Linked DNA regions of Homo sapiens: region 2 is linked to region 1. Evidence: promoter capture Hi-C in human tissues and cell types (Jung and others, 2019). All regions are on one chromosome and are shown on one strand. The core of a region is centred on a gene start or on the middle of the fragment in contact, and the rest is flanking DNA. Distances in the headings are between cores, read along the strand shown.

Evidence for each region. Contacts are between HindIII fragments. The study calls those that stand out against the background at their distance.
Region 2: a contact is called between the fragment with the promoter of MAPK3 here and the fragment with the promoter of DCTPP1 in region 1, in 1 of the 25 tissues and cell types used here (dorsolateral prefrontal cortex).

What each region holds. Positions count from the first base shown.
Region 1 is chr16:30,427,626-30,434,514 of GRCh38, forward strand. It overlaps DCTPP1 (dCTP pyrophosphatase 1), which reads right to left and starts at 2,405. Exons shown (of 3, transcript NM_024096.2): 1 at 2,255-2,405; 2 at 1,432-1,542. The coding sequence starts at 2,355. RefSeq lists enhancers at 508-1,008, 1,009-1,509, 2,263-2,342, 2,743-2,852. The HindIII fragment of the contact is 14,232 bases long and covers 1-6,889 here.
Region 2 is chr16:30,119,827-30,126,715 of GRCh38, forward strand. It overlaps MAPK3 (mitogen-activated protein kinase 3), which reads right to left and starts at 3,394. Exons shown (of 9, transcript NM_002746.3): 1 at 3,214-3,394; 2 at 1,998-2,180. The coding sequence starts at 3,383. RefSeq lists a silencer at 3,386-3,755. The HindIII fragment of the contact is 30,345 bases long and covers 1-6,889 here.

The sequences.
Region 1 (6,889 bases), core at 1,155-3,654:
AGGTGGAAACCTTTCTGCCTTGTTCCAGGCCATATCTCAATTCTAGAAGACCTAGCACATAGGTGATGTTCATAAATCTGTCATGAGGCCATGTGCAGTGGTTCAACCTGTAACCCCAGTGCTGCGGGATGGTGAGGCAAGTGAATCACTTGAGACCAGGAGTTTGAGACCAGCCTGGGCAACAACAGCGAGAGATCCCATCTCTACAAAAAGTAAAAATAAATTAGCCAGGCTTGGTGGTGGCGCACGCCTGTAGACCCAGCTACTCCGAAGGCTGAGGTGGGAGGATCGTTTGAGCTCCTGAGGCTTCAGTGAGCTATGATCACACCAGTACACTCCAGCCTCAGCAACAGAGTGAGACCTTTTCTCTTAAAAAAATGACTGTCCTGGTCTAGGGCTCATCGCCTCTTGCCTGGTCTACACCAGCCAACTCTCTGGTGTCCCCTGCCCCATTCTCTCAGTGATCCATCCAATCCACCCTGTAGACACAGTGACCTTTCCAACACTCATATCTGGTCAGGTCTTCTGTCCAAACTCTCCATCATACTCTAGCCCTAATCATATCTTTGTGGGTTCAACTCCCACCCCTCTCCTCCACAGCCCTATCACTCATCCAACGTGTGCCTATTGAGCGCCTACTATGCGCTGGGCACTTGGGACACATCAGAGAAAACAGATCCCAAATCCCTGATTTTTCCTGAGATGCTTACAATGAAGGAGCGTCAGATTCTCCCTGAATTGAACTTGCCCTTTCTTGCCTCACTGCCCCTGCAAATGTAGTTCCCATGTCTGGAATGCCACAGGCAGGTCCTCTACAGAATACCTTCCTTTCAGCCCCAGAGGCAGAGGAAAAGGGTTGTTGGGCCAGGCGTGGTGGCTCACCCCTGTAATCCCAGCACTTTGGGAGGCCAAGGCGGGTGGATCACCTGAGGTCAGGAATTTGAGACTAGCCTGACCAATATGGTGAAACCCCGTCTCCACTAAAAATACAAAAATTAGCCAGGCGTGGTGGGGGGCACCTGTAGTCCCAGCTACTCGGGGGGCTGAGACAGAACTGCTTAAACCCAGGAGGCGGATGTTGCAGTGAGCCGAAATTGAGCCACTGCACTCCAGCCTGGGCGACAGAGCGAGACCCCGTCTCAAAAAAAAGCCAAAAAAACAAAAAACAAAAGAAGGGAAAAGGGTTGTTGCCACTGCTTCTTCCTAGACGGGACCTGTCCTGATGCTTTCACACCTCACACCTCTCTCTTCCAGGAGGCTGAGTGCCCCTAGAGGGCAGGGACCCGTGAGTCCTCTCTGCATCCCAACAACAGCAAAGAGCCTAGCAATCAGGAGGGGAAACTGAACCCATGAATGTTTGAAGACCAAATAAATGCTCCCCTCCCCTCCCCCACAACTCAGACTCTACCAGGAAGCTTTCCATCTACTCACAAGAGTTCTGCCAGCTCCCCCACTTCCCCAACCAAGGCCAGGAGGAGATTCCGAGGCTGATGGAACTGTTCCCAGTCTCGTTCCGCAGCAAACTCAGCATGGAGGCGGCGGCTGAAATAGGACAAAGGAGTGTAAGTCCAAGTCTCCGGGTTAGAGGGTGATGCAGGGGCCAGAGGCAGCTACCCCCGTAGTATGTAATGGGGCCTGGGACCAGGAGATTCTGCAACTAATTCATTGGATGGTATTGTGCAGGTCATTTCCTCTTTCCGGAACTTGGTTCCCTCATCTATAAAATGGGCGTGCCCCTGAACTGCCCTTAACATCTCGCCAAAACTAACAAAACCCTCTTCATTATTCCATCTCCTGCTGCTACTTCTGCAGTTTCCTCCACCTGGAATCGCCGCACATCAAAATGCAATTTCTCTTACAGAAGGTAGTTCCACAGACCCTTCCTCTAAGAAGCCTTTCTTGACCTCCTCCAGCAAAAAATAACGTCTCCCACCTCTCAGCACTTCGTTTGCCCCTCTCGTACCCCCGGCGCCTGGAGAGCAGAGGCGGTATCTGGTGCCGGTATCTTCCCAGGGCTAGGCTGAAGGGCGTTCCTAGTTACCACTCGGAGGCACCACCCAATTTCCCTTGCCTCAGGTGTGCACCGCTGCGCCCATTTTGCAGATGAGGTAAGAAGGCTCACCCAGGGACAGCCCACAGAGCCAGGACCCGAGCCCCGCTGCCAGCCCGCTTCCCGACCACGTGGAGGAACCCTCCCCAAAACGCGGGAGAAAGGGGCGACTTCCCCACCCCGAGCTGGGCCAGGCCTGCTTACATGTCCTCGAGCGTGGGCTCCGGGCTGAAGCTGAACCGGCCGGGAGCAGCAGTGTCCTCTCCCCCCGTGTCCCCACGAATCTCCCCACCGGCCACAGACATGCCGCCCACCGCTGCACCGCGACTTCACGGAAAACCCACGAGCCACGCTCGAAGCCCCGCCTCCAGAGCTCCGACCAATTACGGGAGTTCTCTATTGCCTCACGGGGCGGAGCCTGAGGAAAGAGACCAATGACTTTTGTGGAGTTTGCTACAGCCCTCCCCTTCCCTCACTGGACCAATCTGAGGGAGCTTCAAGCGCGCGTTTCTAGTCTTAGGCCCTGGAATTCTTCCGCTAGGCCCTGTGTCTAAAGGTAGAGGTACCAATTCGACCTGGGGAAGAGACGAAGGGCAGAGGGTGGGGGAAGCGCAGGCGCGTCACTTCGTTTATGGGCGCCAGAGGGCGCCAAAGCGAAACGGCAGCGGAAGAGGGCCCGTCAGGTGGAAAACCCTATAAATGAAAGGCCCTATGCATAGGTATTAAATCAGGGCTTAAGGACGTTGAGAAACCTCGAGGCCAACCCCCACACTATTTGGATGGGATTGAAGGGGAAGAGCGGAGTAAGATCAGACGGCAGTAGGACTTCAGCTCCCCGCCATCGCTGTGTCCTGTGGTTGAAACGATGGAGGTCGCCCCATCCCTGTCCTAAGGGAGGCAGTAGGCCCCAGCGCAACGTACATTGCCCTGAAACACGTGGCCCCTTATGGTCTGGCCTGTGCCGGCCTCTCCAGCCTCATGGGTCCCCAGCACGGCTCCTCCACCCCACACACGAGAACTCCAGGCTCCACTCACACCAGGGAATACGCGAGGTGGCGAGTCACAGGGTTGCTGCTTTCAAATCAGAACCACTGAGTTATTGGCCATGGGAGGAGCAGAGATCTTTATGAAACCCTAGAACAGGTGTAGTCTTGCAAAGAATGATTTATTATTGTACCCTTATTAGGGCTACTATCTCTGATTTCCACGTTTAAAGAGGCTTCCAGCTTGCTGGAAGTGAAAGCGTAAGAAAGCGCAGGAAGAGGCAGAGTCAGATTTTGGAAATTAAAATCCCAAGGCTGTGACAATTGCAATTCTAGGTATATGCCCTAGAGAAATTAATGAATATGTGCAGAGAGACACATGCAAGAAGTTCATTACAGTTTTGTTTCTAAGAGTGAAAAAAATTGAAAATAAAATGACTATCAACGGAAGAATGGCTACATGGAAGTATATTTATACAAATGATATTATCCAGCAGTTAAGATTGGATACATGCAACAGAAACAAGTTTAAACTGCTTTTAGCAAGAAAAAGAAATCTATTATTTTTATTTTTTAAATTTTTTATAGAGACAGGGTTTCACCATGTTGCCTAAGCTGGTCTTGAACCAGGATTGCTGGATTGGGCTCTAGCAATCCTCCTGCCTTGGCCTCCCGAAGTGCTGGGATTACAGGCACGAGCCACCCCCACCGGCCACAAGGAATTTATTGTAAGGATACAAGAGTGTCTCCAGAATACAGTGGGACCTCAGGAATGAACTGGAACTGGGGTGGCTGTTTTAAGCATTTTACATATTTAATCCTCATAGCAACTAATTTAATCCTCACAAAAACCCTATATGGTAGGTAATATTGTTGTCATCCCCATTTTAAAGATAAGGAAACTGAGGCCGGGCGCGGTGGCTCACGCCTGTAATGCCAGCACTTTGGGAGGCCGAGGCGGGCGGATCACGAGGTCAGGAGATCGAGACCATCCTGGCTAACACGGTGAAACCCCGTCTGTACTAAAAATACAAAAAATTAGCTGGGTGTGGTGGCGGGCACCTGTAGTCCCAGCTACTCAGGAGGCTGAGGCAGGAGAATGGTGTGAACCTGGGAGGTGGAGCTTGCAGTGAGCCGAGATCGCGCCACTGTGCTTCAGCCTGGGCGAAAGAGCGAGACTCCGTCTCAAAAAAAAAAAAAAAAAAAAAAAAAAAAAGATAAGGAAACTGAGAGGTTAAATAACTTAACAGCTAGTAAAGTGGTAGAGCTGGCGTCAAATCCAGGCAGTTTGGCTTCACAGTCTGTTATTAGACCCTATGATGTATTGCCTGAAATGGCGATAAATATGAAAAAAATAAATGTAACTGTATTTTAAATACTATGAAAGGCTGGGCGTAGTGGCTCATGCTTGTAATCCTAGCACTTTGGGAGGCGGAGGTGGGCAGATCACTTGAGATCAGGAGTTTGAGACCAGCCTGGGCAACATGGTGAAACCCTTTCTCTATTAAAAATACAAACTTAGCTGGGTGTGGTGGTGCATGCTTGTAGTCCCAGCTGCTCAGGAGGCTGAGGCATGAGAATCACTTGAACCCGAGAGATGGAGGTTGCAGTGAGGCGAGATTGTGCTACTGTACTCTAGCCTGGGTGACAGAGCAAGACCCTGTCTCAAAAACAAAACAAAACAAAACAAACAAAACAAAATCTGGGCATGGTGGTGCACACCTGTGGTCCCAGCTACTTGGGAGGCTGAGGTGGGAGGATCACCTGAGCTTAGGGAGGTCAAGCCTGCAGTGAGACATGATTACGCCACTGCACTGCAGCCTGGGCGACAGAGTGAGACCCTGTTTCAATAAATACATACATATATACTATGAAAAGTGATTGGGGGCATGTTTAGATTGCATGGTCCAGGAAGATATATAGTAAGCACTGTAGGTTACCTACTTAATTGCTCTTTTTCCTCTTCTCCATTCTCTTTTTCTTTTTTCTTTTCTTTTTTGAGGAGGAGACAGGTTCTGGTTCTATTGCCCAGGCTAGAGTGCAGTGGCACAATCACAGCCCACTTGTGTAGTTAAGACTACAGGTGAGCATCACCATGCCTGGCTCCTCTTCTATTCTTGCAGAATTTTTTTTTTTTTTTTTAGGAGTCTCACTCTGTCGCCCAGGCTGGAGTGCTGTGGTATGATCTCTGCTCACTGCAACCTCCGTCTCCTGGGTTCACGTGATTCTCCTGCCTCAGCCTCCCAAATAGCTGGGATTACAGGTGCACACCACCACACCCAGCTAATTTTTGTATTTTTAGTAGGGATGGGGTTTCACCATGTTGGCCAGGCTGGTCTTGAACTCCTGACCTCAAGTGATCCTCCCCCTTCTGCCTCCCAAATTGCTGGGATTACAGGCGTGAGCCACCGCGCCCGGCCACTTACAGAATCTTGATTTTGTTCTGGGGTCCACGCTCCTCCACTTGATTGTTCTGCCTGACTGGTCATAGTGTTCCCATTGCCCTGGCCATTGATTGGTTTATGAATGAGCATGCTATGGATAATAAGTTGGAAGTCTTTTTTTTTTTTTAGACAGAATCTCGCTCTGTCGCCAGGCTGGAGTGCAGTGGCGCAATCTCTGCTCACTGCAACCTCCACCTCCTGGGTTCAAGCGATTCCCTTGCCTCAGCCTCCTGAGTATCCGGGACTACAGGCGTGTGCCACCACGCCCAGCTAATTTTTTGTATTTTAGTAGAGACAGGGTTTAACCATGTTGGCCAGGATGGTCTCGATCTCCTGACCTTGTGATCTCCCTGCCTCGGCCTCCCAAAGTGCTGGTATTACAGGTATGAGCCACTGCCCGGCCAAGTTGGAGGAACTCTATTGGATTTCTGGGAAACGTTCTTCTTAGTTCTTTAAAGAAATTACAGGGGCTGGCTATGGTTGTTCATGCCTCTAATCCCAGCAGTTTCAGAGGTGGAGGCAGGAGGATCTTTTGAGGCCAGCCCTGGCAACATAGCGACACTCTACACAAAATTAAAAAAAAAATTAGCTGGGCATGGTGGCATGCACCTGTATTCCTAGCTACTCAGGAGGCTAAGGTGGGAGGATCACTTGAGCCCAGGAGTTTGTTATAGTGAGCTATGATCAGCCCACTGCACTCCAGCCTGGGTGACAGAGGGAGACCCTGTCTCAAAAAAAAAAAATCAAACAAACAAACAAACAAAACCACAAAAGACACAGGATGTTTCTACCTCTAGATGTTGGTATATGGAGAGAAGATTGAGAGGAAACCTAGTCCTCAGGCTGAAATTGGCAAGTCAGCCAGATACAAAGGAACTTGATCCTTCCTAACATTGCTGAGCCACTTATTGTACAAGTTCCAGAAATACCCTAATTTCGGACTCTGGCTATATAAGAAAATGAATCCCTTTAATGGTCAAACTACTTTTAGTTCGGTTTTTTGTTACTTGCCTTGGAGAAAGTGACATTTAAGCTGAGGACAAATCAAGGGGAATAGAGTTCTAGGCAGAGGGAACAACCAATGCCTAATGCAGGAAAGGCTTGGCATATTGCAGTGTGGCAGGAAGGCAGTGAGCAAAGCAGAGAGTGGTTGCATGTGTACGGTGTAGGAGAAGTAAAAAGAGGTCAGATCAGACCAATTCACCACGAGTTTCATTTTAGATTTTTTTTTTTTTTTTTTTTGTAGATGTAGTCTCCCTCTGTTGCTCAGGCTGAAGTGCAGTTGTGCGATCTCAGCTCACTGCAACCTCTGCCACCCGGGTTCAATAAATTCTCCTGCTTCAGCCTCCCTAGTAGCTGGGATTACAGGCATGTGCCACCACGCCCAGCTAATTTTTGTATTTTTAGTAGAG
Region 2 (6,889 bases), core at 2,144-4,643, 310 kb before region 1:
ATGCTGTTTGGCTTGTCTCTAGAAAAATAAGTCAGGGCTGTCTTTTAGAATCTGCCTTGAGACCAGGCATGGTGGCTCATGCCTGTAATCCCAGCTCTTCAGGAGGCCAAGGTGGGTTGATGACCTGAGGTCAGGAGTTTGACGCCAGCCTGGTGAACAGGGCGAAACCCCGCATCTACTGAAAATACAAAAATTAGCCGGGCGTGGTGGCAGGCGCCTGTAGTCCCAGCTACTTGGAAGGCTGAGGCAGGAGAATAGCTTGAACCTGGGAGGTGGAGGTTGCCGTGAGCTGAGATTGAGCCACTGCACTCTAGCCTGGGCAACAGAGGGAGACTCCATCTAAAAACAAACAAACAAAAAACAAAGAAAACAAGAATCAGCCTTGAAAGGGTCTTCAGAGAATATGTGGACCAGCCCTGCTGTTTTAGGGCTGGGGAGGCCCAGCGAGACGCAGTGACTTGCTTCAGATCACACAGCGAGCTGGGGGTGAGCACGGAGATTTCCTGTCCACAGTTTGTGGTGGGGGTTGCAGACACCTCAGTACAAATCCCCACTCTTGGGTGGAGGGCTGGGACTGAGAGTGGGTGGGTGGGGCAGGGAAGAAGTGACAGGTGTCATAAGTTGCTAAGGAGAGCCAGACAGGAAGTGGACAGCAAACTAGGAAAGCAGTATTGGGGGAGGACAGCCAAGGCTAGGCTGTCCCTCCCTGGGCAAGGTGCAAGTCCACAGGTGATTAGGGTGTGGCTCTGAGTGAGAAGTCCTAAGAAGAAGGACAAGTTCCCATCTGGGGGAGGAGAGGAGGAGACAGCAACAGAAACACTTGATTTTAGGTTTTCTGAGCCTTAGCTTCCTCATCTTTTTTTTTTTTTTTTTTTTTGACAGGGTCACGCTCTGTCCCCCAGGCTAGAGTGCAGTAGCACAATCATAGCTCACTGCAGCCTCGAACTCCTAAGCTCAAGCCATCCTCCTGCCTCAGCCTCCCAAGTAGCTGGGACTATAGTCGTGTACCACCAAACCTGGATAATTTTTAAATTTTTTGTAGAGGTGGGGTCTCACTATGCTGCCCAGGCTGGTCTTGAACTCCTGGCCTCCAGTGATCCTCTGGTCTTAGCCTCCCAAAGTGTTGGGACTACAGATGTGAGCCATTGCACTCCACCCCTCATCTTTGAAATGAAGCTGAAAAGCCCATCTCATAGGGTAGTTGGGAGGTGTAATAGAAAAAAAAAAGCATTGGGCATGTATAGTACCTGACACACAGCAGGCCCTCAAGAAAGGCAGTTTTTTGTTTTTGTTTAGTTTTGAGACAGAGTCTCGCTCTGTCACCCAGGCTGGAGTGCAGTGGCACGATCTTGGCTCACTGCAACCTCCAGCTCCTGGGTTCAAGCGATTCTCCTACCTCTGCCTCCCAAGTAGCTGGGATTACAGGCTTGCACCACCATGCCCCGCTAATTTTTTTGTATTTTTAGTAGAGATGGGGTTTAACCATGTTGGCCAGGCTGGTCTCCAACTACTGACCTCAGGTAATCTCCCACCTCAGCCTCCCAAAGTGCTGGGATTACAGGCGTGAGCCACCACGCCCAGCTGACAGTTTTCTTTCTCCCTGTCTCCCTTCCGGTCTGGGCAAGGAGGAAAGAGAGGAAAGAATCATCCATTCCTTAGCAAGAAGTGACTGTGGGCAGAGGCCAGGTCATGTCTCAGAACTGCCGACGTCAGAAGACACCACTCCCATAGAGACCATCCTGCCTAGCCCTTCCCCCTGGGGCACAGAGCAGAGAACCCACTTGCTCGAGGCCATACTGCCTGGGCCGCTGCAGGCCTGGGTTCATCAGAGGTCTCCAAGTCCTGTTACACTGTGGCTTCCCCTCTGCAGGAAAGTTTATTTTACTGGGTTTGTTTTGGAGGGTGGTGGGTAAGATGGAAACAGAAACCAAGCAACGGGTCCCCAGCCCAGCTGCGAGGCCGTGCCTGACCAGCCGACTGGCCAAGGTGAAGGATACACATCTCTCATGGCTTCCAGGGTGGACGCCCGCAGAATGTCTCGGATGCCGATGACATTCTCATGGCGGAAGCGCAGCAGGATCTGGATCTCCCGGAGCGTGCGCTGGCAGTAGGTCTGATGTTCGAAGGGGCTGATCTTCTTGATGGCCACGCGAGTCTTGCGCACGTGGTCATAGGCCGAGCTGAGGGGACCGGAGAGAGGCTGCTGCTGTGGCCTTACAAAGGGGGAGTCCGGGCCTGGTGGCCCCACCCAGGCCTTGGCAGGGAGGGGAGAGAGCAGGAGCTGGCTCTGGTCAAATCATAAACAATGCTGGTTCCTTCCTGCTGTGGAGGCCTGGGATCTCCAGAGAGAAAGCTGGGGACCAGCCAGGCGGCCCTTCGGTGACTTTACAAACAGAGGAAGAGACTGACCGCTCACTGACTTCCCCTCTCCTCAATCCCCTTCCATTCTACTGGCCCTGAACCCTTCGCCCCCATTCCCAGGAAAGGCTCCTTAACCCAAGACAGGTCCGGGGGTGCAGATGCTGGGGACACACCATGGGGCAAATACTGGGAAGGTGGCAGCCAGGGGAGGGGCAGGAGAGAATGGACAGGGCAGGGGAGGGTCCCAGGGTGAGGGATCCGGGCAGCGGGGCTGTCCCAGAGGGATAGAGGCCCAGAGCACACGGTGGGGCCGGGGGCACTCACAGACCCCTCCCAAAACATGCAGGTGGCACTCCTGGCCGCCTCATCTCTCTCTGGGCCCCTGGGGTGGTGGGGCCAAAGCCCTGCCCCACCCTGATCTCGGCTCTTCTCCCCCAGGCTCCCTGGCACTGCCTCACAGGGGGAATCCAAGACACCCTTTCCCCCAAAACGGGCCCTCCACTGCCTCTTCACTAAGGATGTCGCCTCCCCGAGAGTACTCATCCTCTGGGCCTCGCCCCGTGTCACTAGGGTCCCCGCGGGCCCCCACATGCACTCGGATGCCCCTCCCATCATTACAGAAGGGTGGACTCAAAGCCTCCAAGCCTGCTCCCCTGAGGACGTAGGCAGCGCCCCCTCCCCCAGAAAGCACTCAGGGGCCCCCTCCCTGGGACGCTCCCGATCATCCCGAGTCTCCTGCCTCCTCGGGACGCTCCGCGTCTCCACGTCCCGGAAAGCGCTCGGCGCCTCCTCCTCCTCTCCCGCGAAGCCCCCTCCCCTGAGGGCACCCCCTCCCCCGGAACGCCCCCTCACCTGACCATGCCGTACGCGCCCTCGCCGATGTACTGCAACTGCGTGTAGCGCGGGCCCACGTCGAACGGCTGCCCCTTCACCATCTCCACCTCCCCCGGGACCCCCGGGCCGACCCCCTCGGTTCTACGGGGCTCCCCGCCCCCGCCCCCCTGAGCCGCCGCCGCCGCCATCTCCACTCCTCCCCTCCCACCGCCCTCCTCCCCACGGCGGCCCCGCCCGAGGCCCCGCCCCTTCCCGCCTGCCTGTCACCCGCAGGGCCGCGCGCGCCAGGCCCCGCCCTTGCCCCGGCCCCGCGTGGGCCTGGAGCTGTCACGTGACCCGCCCCGCGCGCGCCCGCCCTTCTTGCCCCAGGTTCGGGGGCCATGGGTCCCTGCGGGCTCCGCGGCCTCCAGGTCACCGGGAGGTTCGGCAGCGCCGCCTCGGAGACTGTCCTCACCCTCCCCTCGATGGCGAAGCGGCCAGGGCGTGACCTACCAGAGCCACCCAGCCAATGTATGCGGCAGCCCACCAGAACCTGGGCCCGGGATCACCCTAGGTTAAAAATAATGTTCTAATAAATGGATCAAATTTTACAGATGGAGAATCTGAGAGTTAGGTTTACTAACTTGGGTAAGGTCACTAGTAGTGACAGCTGAGACTCAAAATGGTGTCTTCTGACACAGAGACTCTTTCTAATTCCATGCCTCTCAGAGTCCTAGACTGTTTTTATTTTATTATAGAGACAGGGTCTCTCTCTGTCGTCCAGGCTGGAGTGTAGTGGTGCAATAATTGCTCACTGCAGCCTCAACCTCCCTGGGGTCAAGTGATCCTCCCACCTCAGCCTCCCAAAGAGCTGGGACTACGAGTGCGCGCCACCACGCCCTGCTAATTAAAAAAAAAAATTGGGGGGCTGGGCACGGTGGCTCACGCCTGTAATCCCAGCACTTTGGGAGGCCGAGGTGGGCAGATCACCTGAGTTTGAGACCAGCCTGACCAACATGGTGAAACCCCGTCTCTACTAAAAATACAAAAATTAGCTGGGCATGGTGGCACGTGCCTGTAATCCAAGCTACTTGGGAGACTGAGGCAGGAGAATCGCTTGAACCCGAGAGGAGGAGGTTGCAGTGAGCTGAGATTGCACCACTTCACTCCAGCCTGGGCGACAGAGCAACACTCCGTCTCAAAAACAAAAAACAAAAAGAAGAAGAGAAAAAGTAGGGTTGCAGAAGGTAGGGACTGAAGAAAGGCATGAAGGAGAAGGATCGGGGTGAGCTGAGGCATAAAGGCAGAAGCATAACTTGTCCAGCATGGCTGCAGTAAAAAAATGATGAGGTTTCAGCCTGGAGAGGTAGGTTGGGGCCAGATTAGGAAGGCTCTGGATTCTGGCAAGGAGTTTGGATGTTACTCAGTAAGCAGTAAAAACCCTAGAGGGACTTTTGCCAGATCATTTTGCAACTGCGGGAGAATATAGTGACTCAGAGAAAACACTATGGAGTTCAGCATGGAGCCAGGTTTGCTGAGTGGGAGTGAGTTTCCCAGCATAGGAAAGGCTGGTGTATCAGAGCTGCAAGCTGCCACCTCCTGCTGCTGGAAGCTCAGTTAGAGTGTGACTGAGATTCCCCTCTAGTGACTGAGGTTGGCATTTCCTTGGAGGACTGGACTGGGATTTGTTCTGGTTCATAGACGCATATTCAACTAATGTAGACTTACCATCTCTTCTGTGCCAGGCACTTTTGGTTTTTTTTTGTTTGTTTGTTTGTTTGTTTTTTTGAGACGGAGTCTTGCTCTATCACCCAGGCAGGAGTGCAAGCTCACTGCAACCCCTACCTCCTGGGTTCAAGTCATTCTCCCACCTCAGCCTCCCAAGTAGCTAGGATTACAGGCGCCAGCCACCACGCCCGGCTAATTTTTGTATTTTTAGTAGAGACGAGGTTTCACCATGTTGGCCAGGCTGGTCTCAAACTCTTGACCTCAGGTGATCCACCCACATTGGCCTCCCAGAGTGCTGAGATTACGGCACCTGGCTTGCCAGGCACTTTTATGTACACTACCTCCTGTAATCCTCACAGCAGCCATATGAAGTAGATACTATTAACATTTAACTGGAAAATGATGCTGGCTGGTCGTGGTGGCTCACCTCTGTGATTCCAGCACTTTGGGAGGCTGAGGCAGGCTGATTGCTTGACCCCAGCAGCTGGAGACCAGCCTGGGCAACATAGTGAGATCCCATCTCTACCAAAAATACAAAAATGAGCTGGGTGTGGTGGCATGCGTCCGTAATCCCAGCTACTTGGGAGGCTGAGGCAGGAGGATCAGTTGAGCCCAGGATGTTGAGGTTGCAGTGAGCTCTGATGGTGCCACTGCACTCCAGCCTGGGTGACAGAGTGAGAGACCCTGCCCCCACCCCCACCCCCCCAAAAAAAGGGACAGAGGGAAAACGATGTGGAAGCTTACGCTCTGTCACCCAGGCTGGAGTGCAGTGGCGCGATCTCAGCTCACTGCAAGCTCCGCCTCCCAGGTTCACGCCATTCTCCTGCCTCAGCCTCCTGAGTAGCTGGGACTGCAGACACCCGCCACCATGCCTGGCTAATTTTTTGTATTTTTAGTAGAGACGGGGTTTCACCGTGTTAGCCAGGATGGTCTCCATCTCCTGACCTCATGATCCACCTGCCTCGGCCTCCCAAAGTGCTAGGAGTACAGGCGTGAGCCACTGTGCCCGGCAGAATTATTTTTCTAGCACAGGGTCTTGCTCTGTTGCCCAGGCTGGAGTGGAGTGTAGTGGCAAGATCATAGGTCACTGCAGGCTCGAACTCTTAGGCTCAACAGATCCTGCCACCATGCCTAGCACACACAACCACGCCTAGCTAATTTTTTTTTTTTGTTTTTGAAACGGAGTCTTGCTCTGTTGCCCAGGCTGGAGTGCAATGGTGCAATCTCAGTTCACTGCAACCTCTGCCTCCCGGGTCTCCTGCCTCAGCCTCCTGAGTAGGTGGAACTACATGCGTGTGCCACCATGCCTGGCTAATTTTTTGTATTTTTATTAGAGAGGGGGTTTCACCGTGTTAGCCAGGATGGTCTCTATCTCCCGACCTCGTGATCCGCCCGTGTCGGCCTCCCAAAGTGCTGAGATTACAGGTGTGAGCCACTGCGCCCAGCATTTTTTTTTTTTTTTTTGAGATGGAGTCTCCCTCTGTGCCCAGGCTGGAATGCAATGGCACAATCTCGGCTCACCTTGACCTCTACTTCCCAGGTCAAGCGATTCTCCTGCCTCAGCCTTACAAGTAGCTGGGATTACCGGCACACGTCACCACGCCTGGCTAATTTTTATATATTTAGTAAAGATGGGGTTTCACCATGTTGGCCACGCAGGTTTCAAACTCCTGACCTCAAGTGATCTGCCCACTTTGGCCTCCCAAAGTGCTGGGATTACAGGTGTGAGCCACCGTGCCTGGCTTGGCTAATTTTTAGAATGTTTGTAGAGAAGGGTTCTAGCTAATGTTGCCCAGTCTGGTCTCAAATTTCTAGGCTCAAGTGATCCTCTCACCTCGGCCTTTCGGAGTGCTAGGATTACAGTCATGAGCCACTTCGGCTGGCTCCAGATTAAATCTTAAACCAGTTATTAGCTTTTTGTGATTTTCAAGGTCTGGCACTTCTTTTTTTCTTTCTTTCTTTCTTTTTTTTTTTTTTTGAGGCAGTG